Linked DNA regions of Homo sapiens: region 1 is linked to region 2. The links are contacts of gene promoters, found by promoter capture Hi-C in human tissues and cell types (Jung and others, 2019). All regions are on one chromosome and are shown on one strand. The core of a region is centred on a gene start or on the middle of the fragment in contact, and the rest is flanking DNA. Distances in the headings are between cores, read along the strand shown. Region 1 holds the start of NACC2 (NACC family member 2). Region 2 holds the start of PMPCA (peptidase, mitochondrial processing subunit alpha).

Evidence for each region. The method cuts DNA at HindIII sites, captures the fragments that hold promoters and counts their contacts. A contact is called where the count stands out against the background at its distance.
Region 1: a contact is called between the fragment with the promoter of NACC2 here and the fragment with the promoter of PMPCA in region 2, in 1 of the 25 tissues and cell types used here (heart right ventricle).

The regions. Positions count from the first base shown.
Region 1 is chr9:136,093,275-136,096,987 of GRCh38, forward strand. It overlaps NACC2 (NACC family member 2), which reads right to left and starts at 2,015. Exons shown (of 6, transcript NM_144653.5): 1 at 1,915-2,015. RefSeq lists an enhancer at 31-722 and silencers at 1,928-2,057, 2,378-2,477. The HindIII fragment of the contact is 19,137 bases long and covers 1-3,713 here.
Region 2 is chr9:136,408,143-136,412,049 of GRCh38, forward strand. It overlaps PMPCA (peptidase, mitochondrial processing subunit alpha), which reads left to right and starts at 2,516. Exons shown (of 13, transcript NM_015160.3): 1 at 2,516-2,597; 2 at 3,855-3,907. The coding sequence starts at 2,527. It overlaps ENTR1 (endosome associated trafficking regulator 1), which reads right to left and starts at 2,472. Exons shown (of 10, transcript NM_001039707.2): 1 at 2,186-2,472; 2 at 1,948-2,097; 3 at 857-925. The coding sequence starts at 2,255. RefSeq lists enhancers at 1,575-1,734, 2,585-2,674, 2,705-2,754 and silencers at 2,095-2,144, 2,285-2,374. The HindIII fragment of the contact is 13,229 bases long and covers 1-3,907 here.

The DNA.
Region 1 (3,713 bases), core at 765-3,264, 320 kb before region 2:
TTCATGAATAATGCAGCCTCATGCTTTAATTGGAAAACAAAGGGAGGATTGAAGAATTTTTTAAAAGTCACCACTAGCCCCCTGCCCAGGGCAGAGCAGCCCTGCGAACCCTTCCAGCAGCCGGTGGTAAAGAACAGAGCCTGTTCTCGCAGCCTGTAGCAGCCCAGCTCCCACTGCTCCCAGCAGGAGATCTCCCGGGTGGCTCCTCCCCGCCTTCCCGCCAGGCCAGGGCCAGCACCATCGAGCCCTGGGTGTGACCACTGCGAAAGGATCCCTGGCCACTAAGAAGTGACAAGTGATATCTTGTTCCACTCTCTGTGCCCATTCCAAGTGGCTTTGCCGAAAGGACAGGGGGCCACCACCTTGGGTGGCAGCTCCTTTTATTTCCTCCCCTTGGACTCTGGCCCAGCTACCACCCAACAGTGACCCCAGGGGAAAACGCCAAGAGGCCTCTTTAAGGGAGGGGCTGGGAAAGGCCCCACAGAGGACCAGAGGGGTGCTCCAACGGTGGCCGGGAGAAGAAGGGGTGGGTGGCTGAGAGGTGGCGGGTGGGGCGGGGGCTGCCTGAACCCTGACCTAACTCTAGGCGCCCCTGCTGGGGGGTGCTACAGGCTAAAACACCCTGCAGAATGCTGAGCTGAGTGTCCCACTGGAGAACAGGAGGGAAGGAGGTCAGGAGCCTGCCAGACGAAAAGAGGGGTGGGTGAGAAGAAGGGGCGACCTGGAGGGACACGGACTCTGGCAGGAGAGTGCGGCCGCGCTGGCGGGCGGGAACACCAAGGTGCACGCGCTCCCGGAGGCAGCTCCACGGGATGGGAGTCCGGGCTGCCTTGGGCACCCCCGGGTCAGCACCCCCGCCACACACAGGAAGGAACGCGCAGCAGAGAACACAGCTCAGGGCACCCAGCGGCCCAGGGAGACGGGCCCACCAGCACGTGGGTGAAACACCTCCAATCCGGAGGCCCCGCGCGGGGGTTGGGGGAGGGAGTGGAACGGCCTGGGAGGCCAACTCCAGGGACCCGGCCTCGCGGCCTTCAGACCCACAGGTTTAAGCGGCTCCACGACGAGAGTCCAAGACCAAACTTCCCCCAGAGCCTGGCAGAGGGGCTGGGAGGTGACCTCTGACCTCCGACCCCACACGATCCCAGCAAGAGAAGCAGGAAACTCCGTCGGAAGGCCTCGGTCCGCCCTGGCCGTGCGGGGTGCGCGGCGGGCCCCGGGCTCCGCTGAGTTTCTTAGAGAAGGAGCTGGGGCCCCCCGACCTCAGCTCCGCAGAGGCACAGAAGCTGGCAAGAGGCAGAGCCCCCTCCCCCTGCGGCCGGACCCCAGTTTCTCCCCAGGCTGGGGCCCGAGTGGGGGAGGCGCGGGAGGCGGTGACGACCCACGAACGGGCCCACCTGGACCGGGAGGGCGAGGCGCGGGCCCGGCTGGGCCAGGCAGCTGCGCAGATGCGCCGGGAGGGGTGGGTACCTCCGCCCTGGCCCCGGGCCAGTCCTGCCCCGGCTTCCCCACCCGGAGGGCTGGATCGGCCAGTCGGGTCCCTGGGGAGGCCGCGCGGGTCCCCAGAAATCCAGGGAAACCCAGCAGGCGGCGGGGAGCGCCCCGGGACGCCCGGAGCCGGGGTCTCCCCGAACGCGCGGCGCGGCGTCCCGGCCCGGGGTCGCGGGCGCCTCCGCCGGGACCCCCCGGCCCCGCCCGGCCCCCCTCCGCGGGCTCCCGAGGCCGGTTCCCGCGCGCACGCCCGGGCCGGCGCGGAACTCGGCCGCACCCGCCCCGCGCGGCCGGCACTGCGGCAGGGGGCTCGCGCCAAGTTGGGCGGCCGCGGAGTTTGCGGGAAGTGCGGGCCCGGCCCGTGGGACGACCCCGCCCGGCGGCGTAACCCGGGGGCGGCCGCGCGCGCCAAGTTGGCGGTACCTGCGGGCGCCCGGCCCGGTCCGGCCTGGGCAGCTGCGGCGCGCCGCCCGCGGCAGGAAGTGCTTGGCGTCCCGGCGCTCCGGCTCCCATGGACTTTCTCCGACCTCGCCCAGCACCGGCGGCCGCACCGCGGCGGGGGCGGGGCGGCGGCGGGGGAGGTGCCCGCGGGCCGTTAAAGGGACAGCGCGCCGGCCGCGCGCGCGCGCGCACTGGCAGCCAGGTGGGCTCCCGGGGTCGGGGCTGGGGTCCGGGGGCCGGGAGGGTCCCCAGTGGGGGCCGGCGGGGCGTGGGGAACCCCGAGCGCTGGGGAGGGGAGGCGGCAGCTCCTCGCCCCTCGCGCGTCCTCCTTCCGGAGCTGCCGGCGGTCGACCCTGCGCGGGACACCCGGCGGGAGCCGGACGCCGCGGCGCAGAGGACGGAGCTCGGCGGCCGGGTCGGGAAAGGACCTGGAGCGCCGCCCTCCGCCCTCCCCGGGCCCCGGCCTCGGCCGGACTCGCTAAGCCCGGGAGAGCCCCCGGGCCCCCCTACCCCGCCCCCGGCGCGCGCCCTGCCCGCGGCAGTCGCGTCCGCACGGTGCAGCCTCCGGGATCCGGGCGGGGGAAGTGCGCGCATCCGCAGCCGCCCTGGACGCTCAGGCGGGCCGTGAAAGACGAGGATACGGGAGCGCCCTTGGGCGAACGTCTGCGGGGCTCCGGCGCCCGTCCCTGCGGCCCGGGAACTGCAAGCTGCCTGGACTGGGCCTGGCGCTGCCTTCAGGCCTGGTGTGATCCGGGCGCACTGGGGCGTTGACAGTCATTCCGGCACCGGCCACGCAGCTCTCCATCTGCCCAAGGCCACGCTCCTGAGGACAGAGGTGCAGTTTTAAAACAAGGGCACGGAAATAAAACGGCCACACACCCGGAAAGACCCAGAGACCCCTCCTCAGCTGCCCCCTAACCTGGGGCCTGAGGTCAGGACAGGCTGCAGTGGTCCTCAGAGGCTAAGCCAGCCTCACTCCCACAGCACGCTCAAGGGTCCTTGCAGGAGAATGGAGTGATACCGCCTCAGTGGTCCCGAGCGAGGGCGCTGGGAGAAGGGTTGAGAAGGAGATGGCCACCAGCATCCCAGAGAACGCCTTTGGGGCTCTGGGGATCAGAAACCTGGGGCTACAGCCCTTCTGGCACAGTCAGCCAAGGTCATTCCCTGGACAAATCATCAGAAGCTTGGCCAGGTTCTTGTCACCCCAACCTCAAGCTAGGCCCTTGATCTTGGCCACAGACTGGCCCTTGACCCCAACTTTAGGTTCTATTCAGCTCTGCGTCCAGAACACACACACACACACACACACACACTTCACTCCCTGGCTTGCCTTGTATGGGGGTGAGTATGGAACCCCGCAGGGACTCTGGGCTCTCCCCACAGAGTCCCATCTAGACCTAAATGCAGTCCCAGGTCCCACACCCCAACCCCCCTCCCCCCACCACTGCCACTTCCAAACCCGCCCCGCAGTCTACTGTGGGAAGGAGGTGGGGTAGGAGGGTTCTGAGTGCCTCCTACACCCAGGGCATGAGCTCAGCAGCCTCAGGGTTCTGGTGCTTCCTAGGCCTGACTTTACAATCTCTGCAGGATCTCTCAGTGAGCATAGCTACCCCAAGCCCCTGAGAATCGTGAATCCCAGAGACAGATGCCTGGAGCTGCTTCCAGCCCTGGGGCAGGCCTCAAGGGGCTACCCACTAGGACCCGTGGCCCTCCAGGGATGGGAATGATTGTTTTAATCACTTTTATTTTCTAAATATTAAAGACATTCTTCCTTAGTGAAG
Region 2 (3,907 bases), core at 1,266-3,765:
CTTCTCCTTCCACCCCTCGGCCCCTGCTCCCACACTGTGCTGCTCACTAAAGCTCCCCTGGGGAGCTTTAAAACGACCCAAGCCACTCCACTGCACACACCCAGCTCCCTGGTGTGAGGTCAACCTGTGCTAGGAGCTCTCAAAGCTCCTCAGGTGGCCAGGTGTGGTGGCTCACGCCTGTACCCCAGCACTGTGGGAGGTCAAGGCGGGCGGATCACGAGGTCAGGAGACTGAGACCATCCTGGCTAACACGGTGAAACCTCATCTCTACTAAAAATACAAAAAATTAGCCAGGCGTGGTGGTGAGCGCCTGTAGTCCCAGCTACTCGGGAGGCTGAGGCAGGAGAATGGCGTGAACCTGGGAGGTGGAGCTTGCAGTGAGCCGAGATCGTGCCACTGTACTCCAGCCTGGGCGACAGAGCGAGACTCTGTCTCAAAAAACAACAACAACAACCAGCTCCTCAGGTGCTGCAACGCTGGGGACCCAGTGCCCCCTGACCCTCTTCCCGACTTTCCTACCTAGGTAGCCTAAATAACGCCCACTTTTCCCTTCTCCCTCTTGCCACCGCCTTCCCACCCTCCGGGGACTTAAGCAGCCACACTCGACCCTCCCAGCTGTGAGCCCCATGTAAAGCTGGCTCCTGTGGCCCCAGCCCCCCAGGTGGGGCTTCCCCGCTCCCTGATGTCACCTCGCTGCTACTCTAGGATCAAGACTGAACCCTTGAAATCCCACCCCCACCTGCTCTTTTGGGCTCCAGCTACACCACATAGCCAGTCACATTGACAGTCCCACCAGACACGTGCCTGGCACTGTGTTGGATGGAGACAAGAAGAAAAGGTTGCTGAACTACTCTACCTCCAAAATGTGTCCCGTGGGCTCCTGACGGGCTCTGCTTAGAACATTTCCCCTTTCCATAGCCAAAATCTGCAAAGAAACAATGTCACCCACCATGCTGGCAGGAAGTCTTTATGACCTCACATTTGGTTTTTTTCTTTTGCACATGGAGTCTCCACTGCAGTGGTTCTCACAGTCTAGAGAACTTTTTTTTTTTTTTTGAGACGGAGTCTTGCTCTGTCGCCCAAGCTGGAGTGCAGTGGTGCGATCTCGGCTCCCTGCAAGCTCCGCCTCCTGGGTTCACGCCATTCTCCTGCCTCATCCTCCCGAGTAGCTGGGACTACAGGCACCTGCCACCACGCCCGGCTAATTTTTTTGTATTTTTTGTAGAGACGGGTTTTCACCCTGTTAGCCAGGATGGTCTCAATCTCCTGACCTCATGATCCGCCTGCCTCGGCCTCCCAAAGTGCTGGGATTACAGGCGTAAGCCACTGCGCCCGGTCAGCCGAGAAAACTTTAAAAAAAACACAAGCTCCCAGACTTGTGACCCTGGAGATGGCCTGACTTGCAGACTGGCCCTGGTGTCCGTGGTCTGAAAGCGGCTCCTCAGCAGATTTTGAAGCCCAGCCGGGGCAAGCGCGTCCTCTTGTCTTGTGACAACCCCCGAATGTCCTCAGATCCTGGCATAACCACACAAACACTCCTGCACACCCCGGGCACCCAGCAGCACTTCTGCTTGGGTAGAACGAGGACGAACCAGATCTGGCCACTGCCCGGCTGTGGAGGCAGATGGAATGCTCCAGCTCGGTTTCCAATCACTGCCCACTAGGTGAAGGCACCCCGACTCCAGCCCCACGAGGAAAGCGGGCGGGCTCCTGTGCTCCCCGGGCACTAACCATCCTGTACTGGAACTGTCTGTCTTGGGGGAGGTCTCCCCGCAACCAGACTGTGAGCTCCTAGCAGGGGACTCCGCCTTTGAATTCCGAGTGCCTGGCACGCAGTGAGCGCTCTGCACATTGATGGGTCAATGGACGAGCTCGTGCTGCAGCGGAGGTGCCACACGTGGCGCGGGAACTGGAAGCGTCCCCGGGGCCGGCGCCCTCGTCTCTCACCTGTGTCTCCCACGGAAGCCAGCACCGGGCTGGGCACATAGCACATAAAGGCCGGCCGAATGCCGAAGAAGGGGGAGTCCAGGTCCCTGCCATGGGGGCGCTCACAATTTAGCTGGGGGAGACAAGACCGGCGCTCATAGAACGCTGGAGCTGGAAGCAACGACAACAGCGACTTTACTGCGTGCCGGGGCGGCCGCCGCCCACCTGGACCGCTGGACTCGGCCCCTGCCCCGCTCACCGTCGGGAATGGCGAGGCTCCGGGCTCGGGACAGCGGGGTGGCGCCCGGGCGGCGCTGGTAGCCCGACATCGCCGCCGGCCCGGCGGGGCACGACCTGCCTAGCCCGGCAGCGGCGGCTCCATGGCCCCGGCTCCGCCCGTGCCGCGGCCCGCGTCGCCCGCCCCCGTCGCCCGCCCCCGTCGCCCGCCGCTCGGCCGCCCCCGCGCCTCCGAGCCTCTCGCCGCTGCTTCCGCTCCGAGCACCGAAAGCGCGTGCCTGAACGCCTTGGGCCGTCGGCGAGGGGGAGGGGAAGCCGTGGGCGGAAGCGGAAGTGACGACTGAAGCGGGGCGGAGACGCAAGATGGCGGCTGTGGTGCTGGCGGCGACGCGGTTGCTGCGGGGCTCGGGTTCTTGGGGCTGTTCGCGGCTGAGGTGAGCCAAAGGCGAACCAGGCTTCGGCCTGGGGCGGGGGCGGCTCGAGTCTTTCTGGACGCTCCGTCTTCGGTTTCTACAGGTGACATGGCGCCCGTGGGACGGGCTCGCACTTCGGGACACTGGTGTCCCCGAGGCGACGGGGGCCCTGCCTTGCTTTGCGCCTCGAGCCCGGGGACGCAGTCCCATCTGTCTCTCCTCTCCCCGGCTGCTGGGTCCTCTCCCCCCCTCACTTCCCGGGTCGACGGGCCTTCTCCGAGGCCATGCCTCATATTTGCCCCCGCGCTTCACCTACCGCGTGCTCCTTCAGGAGGCTGAGCCGGTGGGGGCCCAGCTCTGTTAGACCCGCAGGGTTCTGACACCAGGGTCCAGGCTCTCGGTTGCTGCGGTCTGTCCGTTGATCTCTGACGTTTAAGAACCCTTTCCGTACCCACCGCTCCTCCCACCCAAGTGACCGGGCCTGCCTTTCCCCACGCTGGAACTTTGTTCCGACAGCACAGGCGTCGCCCCTCCCCACACAACGAGCGCCGTTTCAGGGGTGCGGAGGTGCTGCCTCCAGGAGATGGATACAGGCTGGAGCGTAAACAAAATATCGGCAGTCGCGTAAATGCTTTGGAGTAAACAAGCAGCCTTTCATGATAGAAAATAGCAGGAAAGACTAGACTGGTGAGGGATAGTCCTCCATCAGGGTGACATTTAAGGGAAGAGCTGAAGAATGAAAGAAGGGGTAGGCATGGGCAAAGGGCAAGCCCTGGAACGGTGAAGAAGCTTTGGGGTTGATGAGTCAAATGTGTTCCAGGAATTGACAAGAATCAGTGTGACCAGGACCTATGGGAGTGTGGGGGTTCAAGAGATGAGTTTGGAGAGGGAGACAGAGGCCAAGTCACACCCCGCCTTCGGACCAGGTTAATAAGGGATATGGCTTTTATCCAAGACTTCGGTGGTGCTGTTGGAGGGCAGAGCTGTTAAGTGCTTTATGTGTACAAACTGCACTTAGAGTGAGTTACTGTTAATAAGCCCTGTTTTTACAGAGATAGCAACTAAGACCCAAAGGACGGAACCAGCTTGCTCCAGGTCCCGTGGCTGAGCCTTTGTTGTCAGCCTCTGCTTTGTCTTCCAAAGTCTGTAGAAATAAGTCCTGTAGAAAGGCAGATGCTCACTTTTAACCCAGACAAAACATAACTAACCGCACCTAACAGGTCATCACAGGTTTGTTGTCTCAAGCCTGTTGTAACTGGGCCGCTTTCTCTGTTTTAGGTTTGGACCTCCTGCGTACAGACGGTTTAGTAGTGGTGGTGCCTATCCCAACA